Regions from separate parts of the Homo sapiens genome. Here all the other regions are linked to region 2. Evidence: promoter capture Hi-C in 16 types of primary human blood cells and fetal thymus (Javierre and others, 2016). All regions are on one chromosome and are shown on one strand. Each heading gives the region's core, a stretch centred on a gene start or on the middle of the fragment in contact. The rest is flanking DNA. Distances are from core to core; before and after follow the strand shown.

Region 1 (2,700 bases), core at 3-2,502, 120 kb after region 2:
CGTCTCTACTAAAAATACAAAAAATTAGCCAGGCCTGGTGGCGGGCGCCTGCAGTCCCAGCTACTCGGGAGGCTGAGGCAGGAGAATCGCTTGAACCCAGGAGGCGGAGGTTGCAGTGAGCGGAGATTGCGCCCCTGCACCCCAGCCTGGGTGACAGAGCGAGACTCCGTCTCAGAGAAAAAAAAAAAGAAAAAGAAAATGCATCTGCAGTCCATGGTATGTTGCTTGATAAATGGTAAATATCCCAAAAATGGAAGTGAGGATAGTGATACAGGGTGAAAAGTAGGAGTTACAGTTCCACTGCAAGGCATAGAAAGGAAAAAAAAAAAGACTTTCATGAAATCATGTCCCTATTCCTCCAACCTCAGACTATCACACCATAAACTTTTAAGGAGTCATGGTGCATTTTCTGGAGTAAATGAGGTTACCATGTCTTGGACTTTGTTCCCAGGCTGGAAGCAATTAAATCAAAGGCCAGGTCTCTCCCACCCTTCCTTCAGCCTCAAATCACTTCTCCAGGACTGTAAAATCTGCCATAGGACTTTTTTTGTTGCCGTTAAGCAGCAGATTTACTGTCCTAATTACACTTTGCTTGAGCTTACACTGAAATGAGTTTGCCTCCCGTGAGGACACACCAAATGACAGGGGAGGCAGCTGCTTGGATGTGGCTGAGTTGGTGCCTGGCTTGGGGCAGCAGGGGACCAACCTAGAAATTGAAATCTGCCACTGCTCATTCTCACCCCGGAAAGCCAGAGGTGGAGAGAGGAAACTATCCACCACGGAGTCATCATCCAAATGGAGAGACCTAGCTACATTAATCAACTATTTAACAATCATTTCTAGGCCACGCACGGTGTTCACGCCTGTAATCCCAGTGCTTTGGGAGGTTGAGGCAGGAGGATTGCTTGAGACCAGGAGTTCGAGGCCAGCCTGGGCAATACAGCAAGGCTCTCTCTCTATTAAAAAAAATAATAATTTCTCCTCCATCTCTCTGAGGCTGGTGATCTCCCTCTAGGTCACAAAAAGGACAGGGTTCAGTTGTAAAAACAAACAAACAAAACAAACAAACAAAATGTCAGCCACTCAGCTGAAGCTTTGAAATAGAAAATCTAGAAAGAATTTTTTTTTTTTTAGATGGAATTTCACTCTTGTCGTTGCCCAGGCTGGAGTGCAATGGCGCATCTCAGCTCACTGCAACCTCCGCCTCTCAGGTTCAAGCGATTCTCCTGCCTCAGACTCCCAAGTAGTTGGGATTACATGCAGCCGTCACCATGCCCAGCTAATTTTTGTATTTTTAGTAGACATGGGGTTTTGCCAGGTTGGCCATGGCTGGTCTCGAACTCCTGACCTCAGGTGATCCACCCACCTCAGCCTCCCAAAGTACTGGGATTACAGGCGTAAACCACCACGCCAAGCTTCAAGAGCTTTTTTTTTTTTTTTTTGAGACAGAGTCTCACTCTGTTGCCCAGGCTGGAGTGCAGTGGTGTGATCTCGGCTCACTGCAAGCTCTGCCTCCCGGGTTCACGCCATTCTCCTGCCTCAAACTCCCGAATAGCTGGGATTACAGGTGCCCACCACCATGCCTGGCTAATTTTTTTGTATTTTTAGTAGAGATGGGGTTTCACCATGTTGGTCAGGCTGGTCTCAAACTCCTGACTTCAGGTGATCCACCCACCTCGGCCTCCCAAAGTGCTGGGATTACAGGCGTGAGCCACCATGCCTGGCCTTTTTTTCTTTTCTTTTCTTTTCTTGAGACAAGAGTCTCTCTCTGTCCCCCAGGGTGGCGTGCAGCGGTGCAATCTGGGCCCACTGCAATCTCTGCCTCCTGGGTTCAAGAGATTGTCCTGCCTCAGCCTCCCGAGTAGCTAGGATTACAGGTATGCACCACCATGCCTGGCTGATTTTTTTGTATTTTTAGTAGAGACGAGGTTTCACCATGTTGGCCAGGCTGGCTCAAACTCCTGACCTCAGGTGATCTGCCCACCCAGGCAGTTCTGATGTGTAACAGCGCTCAGGATAAATTCTAACTCTTCTTTTACAGCAGTGGAGACTGAGGACCAGAGAAGGGAGGGGACTTCCCACCAGCAGCTATTATCAAAGGCTGGATGCAGTTCAGGGCTCCTAACCCCTAGTCTAGACCCCTGCCTTTAATGTACTCAAGGAATGAAAAATTAATTTACCTTTAGACTAATGAGACAAAGTAAGGAAGATGAATCTGTTTGTAGGCAAATCGATTCAGAGCCAAAGAGAAATAATTTCTTGATTATCATACTGTTTTCTTCCTGCAGAATGGGGGCTGAGGGGGTGTGTGGACAATGGCCAGAGCACAGATGGAAATTCCAGCCTCCCGGGTTACCTAATGAGTATCCTCCCTTCTCAGTGCCTTGACCGAGTGTCTGTGGAAACAGACCAACAGCTGCTTGGCCTCCATCAGGAAGGCCAAGCGGACAAAGGAGCACACGCCCAGGGAGGCTCCGGGTCCCCAACTTAAAAGGGCCTTGACAAATAACAGCTGTTCCTGTCCAACAAGCCCCTCTGTAGCTCATTCCTTCACTGACCATCCACTGAGCATCTCTGTGCTCTGCAGGAACGGTGCCAGGGACCTCTTGGGTAACCAGAGGAAAACACAAGTCTTGCCCCTTGGGAAAACTGGAGAGCTAGATAGTACCAGATGAAAACATCTGAGAACAGAGCGCTGAC
Region 2 (2,700 bases), core at 1-2,500:
CTGGAGGATGAGCAGATGTGGGCTTTTGCCTTAACTCATTACTAAGGTGCCTTATCAGGGTTGGTGCACCTGCTTCTGCTCACACAGGCGCATCCACAAGCATACACTCACTGTTGCACACACACACACACACACGCACATGTCCTCCTGCACTTGAAGGCACACATGCATGTCCTGTCAGCTCAGTGAAGCGCCATGCCCCTGGGGATTCCTCTGATCCCAGGTAACCACCTTTTGAAATGAATTTTATTATGACCACCGCTTCACAGCTGTGCAAGTCAAAGTAACTTGATGGGGGTCACAAGCTGGTGGCAGGCAGTCACCTGTGCTTTGCGCCCAGACCTGCCTGCTCTTTCCCTCACTTTCTTCACCCCAGAATCCAATCTCCCTCATGGACATCAACCTTCTCCGCTTCCAACTCCTCCTTTATATGGACACAGGCTCAGAATAGGTGAGCTCGCTGCCCACAGTCACAAAGCCCAGCCATGAATGAAACACAGGGGCCCCGCTGCTCCTGCACTGCTTTCCCCAGTAGGGAGGTGCTGAGGGGACCCTGGACTCCTGGCAGAAGGCATGCGGGCATCAGATCCCCGGGGCCCTGGGCCTGTTTCTGGTCCCTCCCATCATGTTGGGGGGCAAGGATAGTGCCCCATCAAGAGGTAGGGAGGCCCAGGGAGCAGGGAGGTTCGGCCCCTCCCTGAGACTTCTCGGGCACTCCTTCTTGGGGATTCAGCCCCTTCTGCTCACAAGGCCCCCCTTCCCCATCCCCTCCTCACTTCTGCCTCACAGTGGCCAGGTCCTGTGCCAGATTGTCCCTCTCAACCTCCAGCCGGGCGCTGTTGGCGGTGAGTTGATCGAGCCGCAGCCGCAGCTCTCGCAGCTCAGCCTGGTAGACGTCTGCCAGCTTGGTGGGCTCCTTGGCCCGCAGCTGGTTCAGCTCAGCAGCCAGCGCCTTGTTTTGCTGTTCCAGGAAGCGAACCTTCTCGATGTAGCTGGCAAAGCGGTCATTGAGCTCCATCATCTCTGCCCGCTCACTGGCCCGGGTCTCCTTGAAGCCAGCATTGAGTGCCCCAGCCAGGGAGAAATCCACCCGGGTCGGGAGTGGAGGGGGCATTCGAGCCAGGGAGAGGCGGGTGCCAGGACCCAGACGGCGGCCAGGAGCCAGGCCCCCCACCATCATCTCCCCTGAGGAGACGTAGGAGCGGCGAGCAGCGGAGGTGATGCGTCTCCTCTCCATCCTGCTCTGGCTCTGCTCGCTCCTGGGATGCGAGGGCTTTATGAAGGAGTGGGCTAGACTGGCGATGCCCGGGTGCCCCTGGCAACACCCCCTGGCATAGCCTGAGGGGGTGGGGTTGGGCCGCAGCCCAGCTATGGGGAGAGCTCCCCTCACCCCACTGAGGTCACTGTGCCCAGAGGCAGAGCTTCCTGGGCACGCCAACTCCTGCATGAGGCAGGTGGTACCTGGAGCCAGACCATGGGTCTGGGGCCCTGACCGCTGAAGCAAGAGGACCCTCTCTCTAGGAAGGTGGGTCAAGAAAGGGTTGGTTGGACCATGATGAATACTTACAATTATTATGCATCAATTAAAAAGGAAGGAAAGGGCTGAGTGGGGTGGCTCATGCTTGTAATCCCAGCACTTTGGGAGGCTGAGGCTGGAGGATTGCTTGAGCCCAGTAGGTTGAGGCTGCAGTGAGCTGTGTTTGCGCCACTCCAGCCTGGGCAACAGAGAGAGACCTTGTCTCACAAAAAAAAAAAAAAAAAAGGGAAGGAAGGGCTGTACCAGATGACCTCTGACCTGCTTTCCAACTTTTTGATTTCATAACCCAGGCATTATCTCACTCAGCTGTAAGTGCCTGCAAGGTGCTGGGAATTTGGCGAAGAATGAACCTGTTCTGTACCCTCAAGGGCCACCTCATTTCCTACTAGGCCTCATTCCCAGCAGACTCCTGGAGTCCTTCCCTTGAACACAGATGTCCCACATTCCTGCTCTCTGCCCATTCATTCCCTGGAGTTCTGGGGCTGGGGGCTGGGATTGGACACCAGCCCTTTGTCTAAGGGTCAATCATGGCCTCTATGTGGCAGTGGAGGTCCTGATAGGGCAAGAGGGGGCCGGCACTCTCTTGCCTTATCAGGACTTTAGCCCCTGGATCTGTCCCTCCAGGTCACCCCTTCCTTGTCTGGCCTCCCTGTGCCTCTCTCCCAGAGACCAGGCCTTGACAGCTCCACAAAGCCGTTACACATGAGCTGGCTGTGCTGGCTCGTCTTTATTCCTGCAGCGCCCCGTTTCCCTGGCCACCCCTCCGTCTCCCACTGGAGATTTATTTCCTCGAGTTCCCACACATCAGCCTGGAGAGATGGGAAGAACCTCTGGGGATGGATGGGTTTGGAAACGCTGGAGCCACTGGGCCCAACTAGGAGCCTGAGACCTGGGCCCTGTTGTCCCTGGAGACTTCAGGTCCATCTACGCCCTCCACTCTGGTCCCACAGGGTCAGAACCCTGCCCAGTCCCCTCACCCATTTGTGTCCTTGGACTTCTGGGAAGCAGACAGCCCTCCTCTCCCCCCCTGCCACCCACTGTCCATGCCTGGGCATCCCCTGATCCCCTTTCCTGGGCACAGGCTGAATAGAGCCTTGTTCTCCACCGCCGGTGGCGCCACACAGCAAGGGCAGCCCCTAGGGGGCTGTGCTGCTTTTATCCCA
Region 3 (2,700 bases), core at 179-2,678, 91 kb after region 2:
ACCTCGTGATCTGCCTGCCTCGGCCTCCCAAGGTGCTGGGATCACAAGCATGAGCCACCACGCCCAGCCACCCAGCTAAATTTTTAAATGTTTTAACTTTTTTAGAGACTAGGTCTCCTAACACTGCCCAGGCTGGTCTCAAACTCCTGGGAACAAGTGATCCATCAGCCTCAGCCTCCCAAAGTGCTGAGATTACAGGCATGAGCCACCTAAGCGATTTTTTTTAAAAAGTGTTGAGTGAGGCAGGAGGATCACTTACGCCCAGGAGTTTGAAGTTACAGTGAGCAATGACTGGGCTACTGCACTCCAGCCTGGGTGACAGAGCAAGACCCTATCTCTAAAAAAATAAAAAATATTTAAAAAGCATTGGCTGGGCACTGTGGCTTATACTTGTAATCCCAGCATTTTGGAAGGCTAAGGTGGGAGGATCACTTGAGCTCAGGAGGTCAAGACTAGCCTAGGCAACATAGTAAGACCCCATTTCTACAAAAAATTTAAAATATTAGCCAGGCATGGTGGTGTGCACCTGTAGTTTCAGCTTCTCAGGAGGCTGAGGCAGGAGAATTGCTTGAACCCAGGAGGTAGAGGCTGCAGTGAACTATGATGGAGCCAATGCACCCGAGCCTGGGTAACAGAGCAAGACCTCATTTCTAAACAAAATAAACAATTTTTAAAGAAGTGTTGACATGGTGTTTGTTAAGGTGTGGAGAAAAGGAGTTACAGAGAGCCCTGAGAAAGCCAGACCTCAAGACCATGAAGATGCGTCCTTCCTCCTGGCCCCTCAACCTTTCAGCACACCCCTCCCCTCTCCTCCTGCCCCAATCCCAGGCCCACTCTCGCTCCTGGCACCTGGCTGAGCTCTGGCTCGGGGTGGGGAGGGACATCCTTAGCTGCGAGGCAGATGGGCTCTACAAGGCTCAGCGCCTACAAGCCCCTGCAGAATTGGCCACCAAAGAGTTGGTGCTGGACTTCTCTAGCCTCATGGAGAGCCAGAGCACAGGGAGAACCAGTGCAAATGGCTTCCTTCGTTCCTGGGAGGGGTCTTGGGGGTCACCTAGGACCCTCTCTTTGACAGATGGGAAAACCAAAGCTCAGAAAGGTTAGCATATGTTCAAACACCAGTCATCTGTCTAGCAGGGAGAAAGGGTGATCCCAGGAGCAGATAAATCCAAATCCCTTTCAAAGGCCCTCCTGGATCCTGGAAAATCAAATGTTCTTTCCAACTCTGCTTCCTTGGGCTAGTGTTTGAGCAAAAGTCTATTCCAGGTGGGCTGGGACTGGGGGCAGAGGAGGGAAGGAAATTGGCAGGAAAGTAGTTTTCTAAGTGGCTGATGGCTGCTTTGGGCAGGAGACAGGCTGCTAGGAACCTGTTCCCTCCAACCCCCTCCAACCCCCTCCAACCCCCTCCAACCCCTCCAACCCCCTCCAACCCCCTCCAACCCCCTCCAACCCCTCCAACCCCCTCCAACCCCCTCCAACCCCCCCAACCCCCTCCAACCCCCTCCAAACCCCCCCAACCCCCTCCAACCCCCTCCAACCCCCTCCAACCCCCTCCAACCCCCTCCACAACCCACTTGCCTGGGAAGCCTTTCTCCCCACACCCATTTTCTCTTTCCGGCTGAGGCTTACCCTCCATCTACGATGAACGTGGGGGGCCTGGGGAGAGGTAGGGGGCTGGGAAGCAGTCCTGTCTGCCTTTCGAACCTCATGGGCAGGTGGGGCTCCCCTGCCTGACATTCCTATGCTGCTCCCGCCCCCGCGTGGCTCCTCTGATGCCCAAATCGCCTTTTCCCAGATCCAATTAAAACAGCGTTTGGAGCAAGGTTGAAATAATCACATAATAATTTTCTCCAGTAAAGTTACTGGCTGGAGCCCGATTTGAAAGCTGAGCTGGTAATTGAATCTGAGGGGCAGCGACAGAAGAGGAGCTGGGGGGAGTGGTGGAGACTCCTTGTGGGGCCCAGAGGCTCCCGGCTGTGATTACCCCTCCCACCATTGGTAATAGGTGTTGCAACCCCCTCCTACTGTCCATCTCCATTTCACTCCCTCCCTCTAGTAACAGATGTCTCTTGGGGCTACAGAACTCCCAGACTTCAACAGGAGAACAGGCCCAGAGCCCATGCCATCAGACTTTCTCGGTTCACAGGCCAGACTGGGGAGGCCACATGCCCACAGTCACCCAGAGAGGTCAAGCAAAGCCAGGACTCCAACCCAGGTCTCGGACTCTCCAGCCACTGTTTTTTTTGTTTTTTTTTTTGACAGAATTTTGCTCTGTCGCCCAGGCTGGAGTGCAGTGGCACGATCTCAGCTCACTGCAACCTCTGCTTCCCGGGTTCAAGTGATTCTCCTGCCTCAGCCTCCCAAGTAGTTGGAATTACAGGCGCATGCCACCACACCCAGCTAATTTTTGTATTTTTAGTAGAGACGGGTTTCCACCATGTTGACCAGGCTTGTCTCAAACTCCTGATCTCAGGTGATCCACCTGCCTCAGCCTCCCAAAGTGCTGGGATCACAGATGTGAGCCACTGTGCCTGACCCAGCCACTGCTTTAATCTCCACTTCAGGTTTCCTGACTCCCAGGCCCTCCCCACTCTCTCCTGCTCTGCCCATCTTCCTCCACCATCTCCCAGGATTTCCTGGTCCCACCCTAACCTCTCTGCAGCAGGGAGGGGAAGTGACTACCTGCATGATCTCTGGGCC
Region 4 (2,700 bases), core at 11-2,510, 65 kb after region 2:
GCTCTTGTGATGGGGGTCACTGAGCTGCAGGTCTTCCAGCTTCCAATCTAGAAAGAGCCTGATGGATTGATCGTGGGTCCAGGGAAAGATTTTGAGTTCAAAGACGTAATACCCTCCAGGGACTCCAGGAGAATTTTCTGTGTCATGTAAAAAGTAAGAAGAGGCTGAGTGTGGTGGCTCGGCCCTGTAATCCCAGTCCTTTGGGAGGCAGAGGCAGGAGGATTGCTTGAAGCCAGGAGTTGAGATCACAGGCTGGGCAACATGGCAAGACCTTGTCTCTACAGAAAAAAAAAAAAAACAAAAACACAAGAAGATCCCTCTCTTTGCCCCTAATTGAGAGACATGACTAGAAGGCAGGAGGTTGGCTGTCGAGTGGGGAGTGCTTATCAGGTAGGGGTGGGGCAGGTTTCCCATGTTATCTTGGAAGGTATTTCTGGCTCTACAGTTCCTGATGAAGACATACTCGAGCACTTTAGGCCAACCATTGGTAAAACTAGGAGCAGAACTCAGGAGTCCTGGATGCCTGCCTCTCCAGTCTCCAGTGCAGTCCCACCTCTCCTCCCCGCTGCTCCTCGATTGCTAGCTCCCTCCCTGCCAGTTTCCAGGCTGGGAGCCCCAGCTGGCGGAGGATGTCTTGCTCCTCAGCAGCTGGGATTTGTAAATATTTATAGGAACATGGAACAGATCAGTGGCTGACAGGCCCAGGGAGCGGGCAGGGCCCTGCCCGGAGCTCAGCAGCTTCACTCCCCCTTCCCACACCCTGGCCTGATTTGAGGGAGCCCAGGATGACAAAGAGGGGGTGATCAAGGAGGGTATGGGGCCGGCAGCCTCTATATCCAGGAACACGAGCTTGAAGGATGCGTTTGTCCATCTGCCCTGGGCTCCGCTTTCACACCCAGTCACTCACATCCTTCCACCCTCACCACAGCTCACCTGCGTGCTCATGTGGCCAAGGCCACACTGACCCCCACCCTCACTCTTTCAACACTTCACTGTCACACTCACACATGTACACACATGCTTTCCAACTCCCACGTCCACGTTGATACTCACTCTCATAGGCTCACACTTTTGCACACTCACCACCTCATGCTCACAGACCCACTGGGGGCCCAGATCCCAGCCACTCCCCATAGGTCTTAACACAGGTCCTGGGAGGGCAAGTCCTGTTTCCTATCTGAGGTGGGGTATGAGTGCGTGTGTGTGTGTGTGTGTGTGTGTGTGTGTGTGTGTGTATGTGTGTGTATGCATGCTTGTAGGGAGCAGGAGGGAACAGGTCCTGAAGTCAGGAAGTGAGGAAGAGGGAGGAGAGAGGGAGAGAGGCATGGACCAAGGGCCATTCAGAGCTGATAGAAGCCTGGTGTGGAAGCAAGGCAGAGACAAAGGCAAGGCAAAGAAATAGAGACTGACAAGGGTCAAGCCAGAGGGGGAAGGGGGTGGGGACCGAGGCCCCCCCACCCAGATGAGAAGCTGTCACATTGCTGCTCCGGTGGCCATGAGACCAGCACCACCCCCAGCTGGAGCCTTTCCCCTCTGGATCTTGTCACTGTGGCTTTGCTGCTTGGGCAGCCGGGAGTGGTGACAAGCAGGGAAGACAGTCCCCAGGGCAGCTGGCCATGCCACTCCAGCCTGGCTGCCAGCTCACCCATCACTGCCCATCTCATCACCCACAGGGGCCCAGATGAAACCAGGAATCGGCCTGGCTGCCCTTGCCTCCCAGTGTCACAGTAGAGAGCAGGGGAGCCACTGGCCCCCTCCCCAAAACGTGGGCAGTGTTAACCACACCTTGCCCAGGTCCCTGGACCTTGAAGCTGGACTTGGGGAGAATGGGCCAACTCTCTGCTCCCAGGCACCCAGGACCTGCTAGACAGGGAAGGAACTGGTGAATGAGACAGGGTGCTTGAGGAGGGGGTTGGGGAATGAAGCCACTATGAGGAACCCAGTGTGTTTTGGGCATAAACTTTTTATTTCGTCGCTTTACCATGCACAAGAATGATGACCCCACATGCCCCTGGTGCTGTGTTAAATAATCGTCCTTCTCGCCTCGGGTCTGTCTCACGGTATTAGTTCTGGGGCATCAATCAGCCAGTTTGTGCTCTGCAATCTGAGAACAATCATTTCTATAAAATCAGTAAGGCAAAAAAGGAATCATAATACAAAGGAGGGAAAGTTGCACTGACTGCTGTTTTCCTGTTTTTTTAATCAGCAGTGCAGCTTTCCGTCCAGGTTTTGATGTCCTGATTGATTCATGCTTTCACGGGTTCATTCATGTATTTACTCAACAACCATTGCTCATCCGAGTGCCAGGTCCTGAGCTGCGTCCTGGGAGCCAGTGAGAAAGCCAGACAAGGTTCTTGCTTACATAGTGTTTAGAGTTGATCAAAACCAAACAAACGCACAACAAAATGTGATTCCCCCAAGGGGCCAGAGAGCAGTGTCAGAGTGCCCAGCCTGGGGACCCAGACATTGGGCTCTTCCAGTGGAACACTTGGAAATCACCCAGAATTCTTCTCTCGTCCCAGGATCAACATCTTCCCATCCCTCTCCTGCCTTGGCAGTTTCGCTTTTCCTAACAATCAGGCCATCTGGTAATGGGGGGATGTACGAATGTGAAACTGAATCTCAGCTTGGACACTCGCTGGCCAGGTGACCTTAGGCAAATTGCTTCATCTCTGAGTCACAGTTTATTTACTTTTCTGT

What was found. The method cuts DNA at HindIII sites, captures the fragments that hold promoters and counts their contacts. A CHiCAGO score of 5 or more calls a contact.
Region 1: a contact is called between a fragment that was not itself captured here and the fragment with the promoter of GFAP in region 2, in 3 of 17 cell types (endothelial precursors, erythroblasts and M1 macrophages). The highest score is 6.0, in endothelial precursors.
Region 3: a fragment that was not itself captured here is called in contact with the fragment with the promoter of GFAP in region 2 in 5 of 17 cell types (endothelial precursors, megakaryocytes, erythroblasts and 2 more); the score reaches 9.9 in endothelial precursors.
Region 4: a fragment that was not itself captured here is called in contact with the fragment with the promoter of GFAP in region 2 in 3 of 17 cell types (endothelial precursors, megakaryocytes and erythroblasts); the score reaches 7.4 in endothelial precursors.

Annotation. Positions count from the first base shown.
Region 1 is chr17:45,036,343-45,039,042 of GRCh38, forward strand. The region is part of intron 1 of DCAKD (dephospho-CoA kinase domain containing); the gene reads right to left. Among named protein-coding and RNA genes, the nearest start is that of DCAKD, 14 kb to the right of the region's middle. RefSeq lists an enhancer at 1-203. The HindIII fragment of the contact is 322 bases long and covers 1,092-1,413 here.
Region 2 is chr17:44,914,250-44,916,949 of GRCh38, forward strand. It overlaps GFAP (glial fibrillary acidic protein), which reads right to left and starts at 1,251. Exons shown (of 9, transcript NM_002055.5): 1 at 777-1,251. The coding sequence starts at 1,237. The HindIII fragment of the contact is 16,653 bases long and covers 1-2,700 here.
Region 3 is chr17:45,005,276-45,007,975 of GRCh38, forward strand. The region is part of intron 2 of LOC107987243 (a long non-coding RNA gene); the gene reads right to left. Among named protein-coding and RNA genes, the nearest start is that of C1QL1, 38 kb to the left of the region's middle. RefSeq lists an enhancer at 373-1,329. The HindIII fragment of the contact is 5,941 bases long and covers 1-2,700 here.
Region 4 is chr17:44,979,141-44,981,840 of GRCh38, forward strand. It overlaps the pseudogene LOC112268183. Among named protein-coding and RNA genes, the nearest start is that of C1QL1, 12 kb to the left of the region's middle. The HindIII fragment of the contact is 3,216 bases long and covers 1-2,700 here.